Regions from separate parts of the Homo sapiens genome. Here region 2 is linked to region 1. The links are contacts of gene promoters, found by promoter capture Hi-C in blood cells and fetal thymus (Javierre and others, 2016). All regions are on one chromosome and are shown on one strand. The core of a region is centred on a gene start or on the middle of the fragment in contact, and the rest is flanking DNA. Distances in the headings are between cores, read along the strand shown. Region 1 holds the start of PTCHD1 (patched domain containing 1). Region 2 overlaps PHEX (phosphate regulating endopeptidase X-linked).

The links. Contacts are between HindIII fragments. The CHiCAGO score rates a contact against its expected background, and 5 or more counts as called.
Region 2: a fragment that was not itself captured here is called in contact with the fragment with the promoter of PTCHD1 in region 1 in 1 of 17 cell types (endothelial precursors); the score reaches 5.5 in endothelial precursors.

Annotation. Positions count from the first base shown.
Region 1 is chrX:23,332,472-23,337,074 of GRCh38, forward strand. It overlaps PTCHD1 (patched domain containing 1), which reads left to right and starts at 2,378. Exons shown (of 3, transcript NM_173495.3): 1 at 2,378-2,755. The coding sequence starts at 2,405. The HindIII fragment of the contact is 10,599 bases long and covers 1-4,341 here.
Region 2 is chrX:22,124,460-22,129,062 of GRCh38, forward strand. The region is part of intron 11 of PHEX (phosphate regulating endopeptidase X-linked); the gene reads left to right. Among named protein-coding and RNA genes, the nearest start is that of PHEX-AS1, 46 kb to the right of the region's middle. The HindIII fragment of the contact is 200 bases long and covers 1,762-1,961 here.

The sequences.
Region 1 (4,603 bases), core at 1,128-3,627:
ACGGCACGAGTGGAGTGTGGCAGGGGAATTTCTAGCCCCTTCCAATGTGTCCCTCCCAGGGACGGCGATACTGGGGGAGGGGAGTCAGCTGGAAGCTGCTGGACTTAGGCGTCGCGGGGAGCCTCTGGAAACAGAGCAGTGTAGGGAATAACGAAGATGAGCACAGAAAGTGGACGAGAAATGGGTGGAAGGATCTAGGGAGCACAAGCAGAGCAGGGCAGGTGCGCCCCCGGGGTGGGCAGCGCAGCAGGAGCAGGTGTTGCTGAGGAAAGGTAGGAAGGAAGTCCGGTATGGGGGAAGGGAGGAGATCATCAAATAAGGAGGATTTCCCAAACCGCGACTTGCTGTTTCCAACGTGCAAGTTCCCAAGTTCAGTTTGAGAAGTGAAGGGCCGCTAGGTGTAGGGGAGTCTGGAATGGGAACGTTAGGGAAATGCCTCCCCGAGGCGCATTCTCCTACCCATTCTCCTCTTTCTTCCCCCCCCCCCACTCCCCTTCCTCTTCCTGTCCCTATTCGTCTTCCTTCAGCTTTGATTAATATGCATGTCTATGCTCCGTAGTGCGGGCCACCGCCTCCCGTTCGACCCCTGGCACTGGGAGACTGAGCTGTAGCGACCAAAGGCTTGGGATGGGGAGGCTGAGCGCTCAGAGCGCGGAGTCTGAGGACCCCTCGCCGCGCCCTGTATCCCACCCCCCTGGCTGGAGAGAGCGCCTCAGTGACCCAGACTCCGAGATCCCGCTCGGTCTGCGTTGCAGTGGACAGACCCAGGAGCTTGGAGCGCGAAATGAAACGCGCTAAATTGTACCTGTGCGTGGCCGTTCCCGCCGCCGCCGCAGGTCTATCCCGGGGCCGAAGCCGGCGCCCGCCTTCTCGGGGAATTCTCCGGAGGGGGAGTGCGAGGGGAACCACGGTGACTGCCTGCTAGCTCACGGCTGGCGCGCACACGCACACGCCCAACTTTGCCAAGCCGTCGGCGCCCCGCGGGCTCCCCCGCGCCCCCTGCGGCTCAACACGCTCGGAGACCTGTATCTCTCCTGCTCTGAGATAAGGTTCCCTCCACTCTCACACCTTCGCATGTAGGGGAGGAGAGGGCGGAGTGAGGCAGAGAAGGGGGTTAATGCTACTGACTCCCTGGCCAGCCTTTCTCAAACACTCTACGCCCGCAGGGGCGCCCGCGCCAGCCACGCCGCACCAGGTCCCCCAGACCTGCTGGTGACGACAGAGAGAGGAGGAGGAAGAGAAGGCAGGGCGAAGAACCGGGAGCCGGGGAGCCCCGGAGCTCGGGAGCCCGGGAGCCCAGGCGACGGACAGTTCCATCGACTGACCGTCATTATCAGCACTTTTATTACTAAAGGACTGGGTGGGAGGTTGGGGGGTGTGCAACAGAGCTGGCCAGCCCCAATCCACTCTGGAGCGACCCTAAATTAGAGCCACAGAGAAAGATTCTCCACGGATACCTTTTGAGTGGACGTGCTCCAGACACACACCCGGACCCCGTGGTCCCGCCGAAGCTGCAGTGTTGGGGGTATTTTAAACGGTTCTTATTTGGAAGGAGGCGTGATTTCCACGTTCGAGCGTCTTCGCTCCCCACCCCCTCTCGGCACCAGCCAGTGCGCGCCACCACCTGAGCCTGGCGAGAGCCGGGACGCACGCAGTCTTCAGCCTGCTCCTTTAAGCCTCTGGAGAGACTCGGCTCTGAGCGGGTCCGCCCGACACCCGCCCCCTCCCCCCACTCCTGAGAACTCTTTACTTTTTGTTTGGAAAATCGGGGCCATTTCTTTATTTATCTCTGGGTCTTCCCGGAGGAGGGCAGAGAAGGGGAGAGCGAGCTTGGCGGGCCGGACCGGGGGAGGGGAGCGAAGGGAGGGGAGGGGACTGGGTGTAGCCTGGAATTCTCCGTCCTCGTGTTCCTGGGCGGGCGCGCAGAGTCTCCTGGCGATAGCGCCGTCGCCGCTCCCCGCGCCACCCCGTCGTTGGCCTTGGGGGTCGGGTGAGTGGGGTCATGACGAGCCGCGGGGGCTGCCCCGGGCCCCGCCCGCGCTGAGAGGGGACGCGGCCGCGCGGCGCGGAGCCCCCCTGGCGGGGAGGCCGCGGGGGGTGGGGAGGGCGCACGCGGTAGGGCGGAGTGGGGGCGGCGCAGAGGCCGCCAAGCTGGGGGGCTCTCCGGGAGGGCGCGGCCGCGGGCAGGAGGGCGTGTCTCCGGCTCGAGGGGACCCTCCCGAGGCGCGGCGCGGGACTCCCCGATGGTGGTGCCGCGGCTCCGGGAGAGCTCAGGGTCTCGCCGCCGCCGCCGTCGCCGCCGCCGCGGGCGCCGCTGCCGCCGCCGCCGCCGCCGCCGCCGCCGCCGCCCGAACCCGCGCCGAGCGTGCGCCTCGCCCTCCTCCCGCGCCCGCTCTGCTCTAGGATGCTGCGGCAGGTTCTGCACAGGGGCTTGAGGACGTGTTTCTCCCGGCTCGGCCACTTCATTGCCAGTCACCCTGTCTTCTTCGCCTCGGCGCCGGTGCTCATCTCCATCCTGCTCGGCGCCAGCTTCAGCCGCTACCAGGTCGAGGAGAGCGTGGAGCACCTGCTGGCGCCCCAGCACAGCCTGGCCAAGATCGAGCGCAACCTCGTTAACAGCCTCTTCCCGGTCAACCGCTCCAAGCACCGTCTCTACTCGGACCTGCAGACCCCCGGGCGCTACGGCCGGGTCATCGTCACCTCCTTCCAGAAAGCCAACATGCTGGACCAGCATCACACCGACCTGATCTTAAAGGTGAGAGGGGACGGGTGCGGGCAGACTCCGCCAGCGCCGCGGCCGCGGTCGGGCTGGCTCTGCGCTGGGGTCCCGGCTGAGAGCGCCACCTCTCCTAGCCCAGGCAGCTGCCGCAGGGACTCTCCTGCACCGCGCGCCCCAGGGCGGCCGACTGGAGCCTCCCAGCCTCCTGGACAAGGAGCGTCGGGGTCCGGGTCCGGCCCTGCCCGCGTCGCCTCTACCGCCACCCCGCAGCTGCTGCAACAGTTGGGGCGGCGGCGGCCACAGTGCTGTGGTCGGTGCGCTTGTTTTGGTCGCAGTGGGCTTGGGGGTGGGGAGGCTTTGGGGTAACTGGGCCAGCAAGGAGCAGAACGAGAGAAGACATTCTGGAAAGTCCTACTACTTGAGAACAAAATACTATGCTTGGAGGGGATTCCGAGATACCCCTCCCTGTCCTCAGTTTTGTTTCTCCCTTTTTCTGGCCCCCCGGAGTGTTTGGGGAACGGTTGTTGGTGTGGGATGTTGGGAAAGGACAAAAGAATGTGAGGCGGGATGGTGATGAAGATGCCTCCCACCCACCCAGAAAGAAGTGTGGTCTCTGGCGAGGACAGGGGGCTGCCCTGCTGCTCTCTTCTCCGGAGCGAGGTAGCCATCTCTATCTTCTAGGGTATGAAATTATGTTTGTAATTCGCAGTTCCTTCGTCTTTCACAGTAGCTCCTCAAGAAATGCCAAAACTTTGGGAAAAGAGGGAACCGATCAATCCACTTTTATTTGGGTGCATCTGAGCATGGGGGTGAGGGGCAGAGCCCGAAGGGTGAGAACAGAAGCCAGGCTGTGTGACCCCGAGAAGAGCACAGGAAACCGAGCAGCTGGTTAGAGGGTGACACTCGCAGAAACCGGTTGTGCCATCAGCTTGAGGTGGGAATTTGATGTGGAAAGTGAGGTTAATGGTGGTAACTTTCAGGAACTTCCTAAGAAAAGCAGAGGAGTGAGGACTAGAGATGGAAAAGTGGAGACCTCGGGAGAGAAAAGTAAAAATAGGTGAGAATGTTCCATCTGAATCCCTGATGGGGACTGTGGGGCTTGTTTACTTAAGGTTCTCCTTTGGGGAGGGCAGACAAGAACCAGTCCCAGCTGGGACTCTGGTGCAGAGGGATGGAAGGTGATCGTTTTGTGTGAGTCTCTAGTCCAGATCTGGTACTAGAGGCTGGTTAGATTTCTAGTCTACTTATCCCAAGGGGAGTCTGCCGGGAAACCTGGGGAACTCTTTCCTCTTCTTTTCCTCTACAGGTAATAGTTTATCCCTAGAGACAAGCTAATTTTCATTATTTTCCTATGTCCGTTTGTTGACATGTTATCAATTAGCAATTAGTAATGAGGGGAATCTGACTAGGGGCTCAATGGAATTAGGATCTTCCCACATGGAGTGGCTCATGATATTTTTAATGGCACACATCACACATTTACTCATCACAGAACCTTAATAACATTAATCCCGAGATGTTTGTTTTTCTCATGATTAGACTTCCAGCATCAAAGTGGTTTTCTTTTTTCTCTCAATACTTTAGTGACTATATTTTGGGACACAGATAAATACTGCTCCAAAAGCTTTCCCACGAAAACACATAGTAGATTCATCATGGGCATAAGGAAACTGTAATTTAACCAGTTCTGACAGTTGGAAATGCCCCGTCTTTTGATTGATGATCTACTAAATGATATTTCTCTTTTTGTGTTTTTTCAAGGTGACGTTTCCATTGCCTTTCCCCCCCCACCCACAAACCATCACACCACTGTGACAGGCAGTCACCAGTTACAGTCACTCTCAAGGTTAATGAGACATCAACAAGCATTATCAGATCTCTTTT
Region 2 (4,603 bases), core at 612-3,111, 1.2 Mb before region 1:
AGACCTATGGAATGTGAAGACCCTTTATTAGAAATTCATTTACCTAAAGAAAACATTTATGCCTTCCAACAGATCTGAATGTTGGAAGTGACCAGACATAGTTACTTGCTGGGGAGAATTTACCCACAGCCAAAGGCTAGACTATTTGAGACTGATTGACTTGTAAATATTATTCTGGTTTCTGATCCATCCTCTCTTAAAGTTGGAAAGTGGAAAACAGGAAAAGATGAGTTATAAAATTAGAACACAGCCTATATGTTCATATCCAGCAAATAGAAATATAAATATCTACCTGAGTCTTATGAATATATACCTTTAGATAAAAGGACATGAGAAACTCCTCCTGTACCACCAGAATAACCCACTTTATAGCACCAAATAATTTGATTTTTTCTTCTTTTGCCAAAATGTTTAATAGCTATGTAACACTGCTAATCCTGACAAACTGATATGATTTATTCACTCACTTGGCTGCCAGAAACCTCAGCATTTTCTAACTATCCTTAGTTCTTCTGGTTTAACCACATGTCCCACTTCAATATAGGTCACTTTTTACTTATTTTGTTGCCATTATTTTTTATCAGGAGCCAATCCAAGGGCATTTTTATAAATAGTTATAGTATAAGTAATTAATTAATGAATATTTCATATTTATTGGTGCATTCATTTATTTAATGTCTGTGTTTCTAGTAAAGTGACAATTGCCAGAAAGAAAATTTTAAGAGTCCCCCTGAGATTAAAGCCTATTTCTTCAGGGTTATCCACATAAATTATTAACAACGATTTCCATTTTTCACATTCCACCAATCAGTGGTTACAACTCAAGAAAACTTGCCCTGTTCTAGAGCAATGAGAAGACTGGAAACATTTTAATCTCATGGTTTTTTTCCAGATATTATAACTTCTAAGTATGTTAAAGAGGAAAGCCTACTCAACATTATGCCTTTTCGTTAAGAATTTTATTAACATTAAATTAGTTTAAGGTTAATGCCCATAATCAACCTTACTGATTTTTTTTCTTTTTCCTTTCTTTTCTTTTTCAGAACTCCTAGCCTATAATTATTCCTACTAGATATGTACTATATTTTTAAACCATTCCAAGCTGTTTGTCATGTACCATGTTGACATCACCTATCTTAGAATGGACTAGGCTAACTTACAGAGTCACTTGATTTCCACTAAAGTTTGTGTTTGGTAGTAGGCTACAGTCATTCTGGAGACATTTGCTGTGAACCTTGTCCCCTAATATAACGATGGATTTTCTATTCACTGATAAGTTCTACTCATGGATTCAGGCTTTGAATTACTAAATCAGAGTAGGTCTCTCTTTTCAAAAATGACTTCACCTAAAAAGGGTACCATGCATTTTTTTTTTCCCTTTTTCAGCTTTCATGTTGTTAAATCTCATGATCATATCTGCACAGCACCATATTTTCTATGAGTGAGTTTGTTAATATTTTCTCTTTATACTATTGGAATAACTGTTATCTGTTAGCATATATGAAAGATATTTGATTCAATTTCAACTCTGCTAGGTGCCAATTGAAGGTTTCAAAAAGCATAAATTGATCAGCTTGTATTTACTGAGCATCTGCTATATTTTAGTATTAGGTATGAATGTGAGATATGGACTCGTGAAAAATCATATCACATGAGATATGAAATCATAAAACTAACAAAATTTTAAATTAGCAGAATACTTTTTTGTTTGCTTACATATTCATGATCTCATTTGATCTAAATCATGGTTCCTGTTCTCAAAGCTTATGGGTCTTGTTAGGGAGACCAAATAAATATAAATGAAAAGACAACAATTAAACACACACCTATGTATTATTCTGATTTTAAGCCTCACAGGAACTCAGAGAGGGAATTGAAAGTGTGGGTTTAAGTGTTTGGGATTCATGGGTATGAGATAGGATTTGAGTTGCCTTGTGGGATTTCTTTATTATCAGGGACAAAGCTTTGAAGAAAACTACAACCGATCATGGGGCAAACTAATCCCTCCTTAAAGCAATGTTGGCATATGTCCCTTCAAATGTATTAATAGAACCATCATGACTCATTTATGCAAAGTACAGAATTCTTATGTCTATGTGATGGGAGGAAGGGTAAGGAGAGGGCAAGAGGAGCAGGAGAGATAATTTATAATTTGCTAAGATAGGAGCATCTCATTAAAGTAAAGCCCTGGATTGAAGGGTAACAAGTGCCTATGCATATGTGACTCACCAATGTCTGGTGTCTGATGTAGAACTCTATGGGCAAAATCCTGGGGTGCAAAGAATGAAAAAGGAAGAACCTATTTTTAGATAACACTGGTTGAGGAAGAGAACTAAGAACTGCCCATAGATCAACCAAATGAACTGTATTTTTATAGTGTGGATCCATAAAATCTGAAATAGTTGTTTTTTTTTTTTTTTTTTTTTTTTTGAGACAGAGTCTTGCTCTGTCACCCAGGCTCGAGTGCAGTGGGGTGATCTCAGCTCACTGCACCCTCCACCTCCCGGGTTCAAGCGATTCTTGTGCCTCAGCCTCTCGAGTAGCTGAGATTACAGTTGCCCGCCACCATGCCTGGCTAATTTTTGTATTTTTAGTAGAGACAGGGTTTCACCATGTTGGCCAGGCTGGTCTTGAGCTCCTGACCTCAGGTGATTCGCCCACCTCGGCCTCCCAAAGTGCTGGGATTACAGGTGGGAGCCATTGCGCCCTGCCCCTGAAATAAATAGATATTTAACAAAACGTTGCTTTGCCTAGAGGGCTCTTACCCTGAATATGGCAGATTTTACCAAAATAACACTTGAGTTAATTTTTATATGTTATATTTTGACCTTTGACTGGCTCTAAATAAATATTTCCTATGGATAACTTCACCTTAAGACTTCCACTTTAAGGGATTTCTATTAATGTTATATGCTGCCTGGTTGAGGTGTGAGGTCCAAGTTTGGTGAAGAAATACTATTTCTCTATTTTTTTCTTATTTTAAAATTACAGCAGGTTTTTGACTTGACTGAAGGCAATGTTATTATGTGATGCTGTAGAGTAGTCTAAAGATAAAAATCAGAAGTGTTCAGTGATTTATCTTCCTAGTTCCAGCATGCTAAAATAATTATTTCTCTTATTTGCATTGACATGTCAACCAATGAAATTAATCACCTTCAAAGATTTTCCTTGTTCTTGAAGTCTGCTGGGGTAGTTCAACACCATTTCACAGAAAATGTTATACAATAAATCTGTAAAGTCTGCCAAAAAAAAAAAAATTGAGAACCTGAGGTGGGGGATGGTGTGGGGAGTGGAGGTGCCAGAGAAGACAAGGGCAAAGAGCAGCTGAGGCTCATGGGAAAAAAAAAGTGATTTACCCGCGTTTTGACAAATGTGAGAGGGCCACAAAGAGTGAGTTACCGAAGTGTGGATTCAGGGAAGACAGAGGTGGTGGGGGCAGGGGAGGAGGTGGAAGAAAAGGCAGAGGAGGGAGGAACTGGCATGTGAATAAACTATTTGTCATTTTTCACTCTGGCAGTGGGCTGAAATGTTTTTGCCTCTTTTTATTTTCATTTAGAATGCCAATCAATGGGTTACAGACAAAGAGCTTTGAAAACCTTTTCTTATTTATTTATTTAGAGACGGAATCTTGCTCTGTCGCCCAGGCTGGAGTGCTGTGGCGCGATCTTGGCTCACTGCAACCTCCGCCTCGCGGGTTCAAGCAATTATCCTGTCTCAGCCTCCCAAGTTGCTGAGGTTACAGGCATGTGCCACCACACCTGGCTAATTTCTTTTTTTGTATCTAGTAGAGACGGGGTTTCACCATGTTGGTCAGGCTGGTCTTGAACTCCAGACCTCAGGTGATCCAACCGCCTCAGCCTCCCAAAGTGCTGGGATTACAGGCGTGAGCCACTGCACCCGCCCTGAAAACCTTTTCAAAATGCATTAAATTTTAATGAATTTGATAGCCATTTTAATGCCTGGGAGATGCTGGACAGGGAGGGTCCTATGAAACCAAGCTGCTTAGAGAGAAGTATCTGGAAACACTCAGCCCCATTTTAATAATAGCCACATACTCCATAAAAATACCTCAAAGAGAACAGGAGCAAAATGACCTTAAGATTCATCATAGGAATCCAAAAATTCCAAAATTTGCTGAAGATCTTTTTAGCTTGGAGAGTGCTTATTTTTTTGATAATTTATTTTAAAACCTAATAAAATGTTTTGCTTTTGTACACCTTGTCCCAAATAAATATTTTCTTTGGACATATTCAACTTTTTATTATTTATTGGGTGCTTTCTATTATTGCTACATCCTGGCCAGGGTATTGAGAGGGAACCTTTTATTGTCCTCTTTGTCCCTATCTGTAAATATAGTAATCCCCCCTTATCTGAGACAGATACTTTCCAAGACCCCCCCCAACCCCCGCCCAGTGGATGAGACTGGGGATAGTACTAAACTCTATATATACTATGTTTTTCCTATGCATATATAACTATCATAAGGTTTATTTTATAAAGTAGGCACAGTAAGAGATTAACACCAATAACTAATAATAAAATAGAACAGTTATAATGATATACTGTAATAAAAGTTATGTGAATGTGGTCTCTCTTTCTCTCA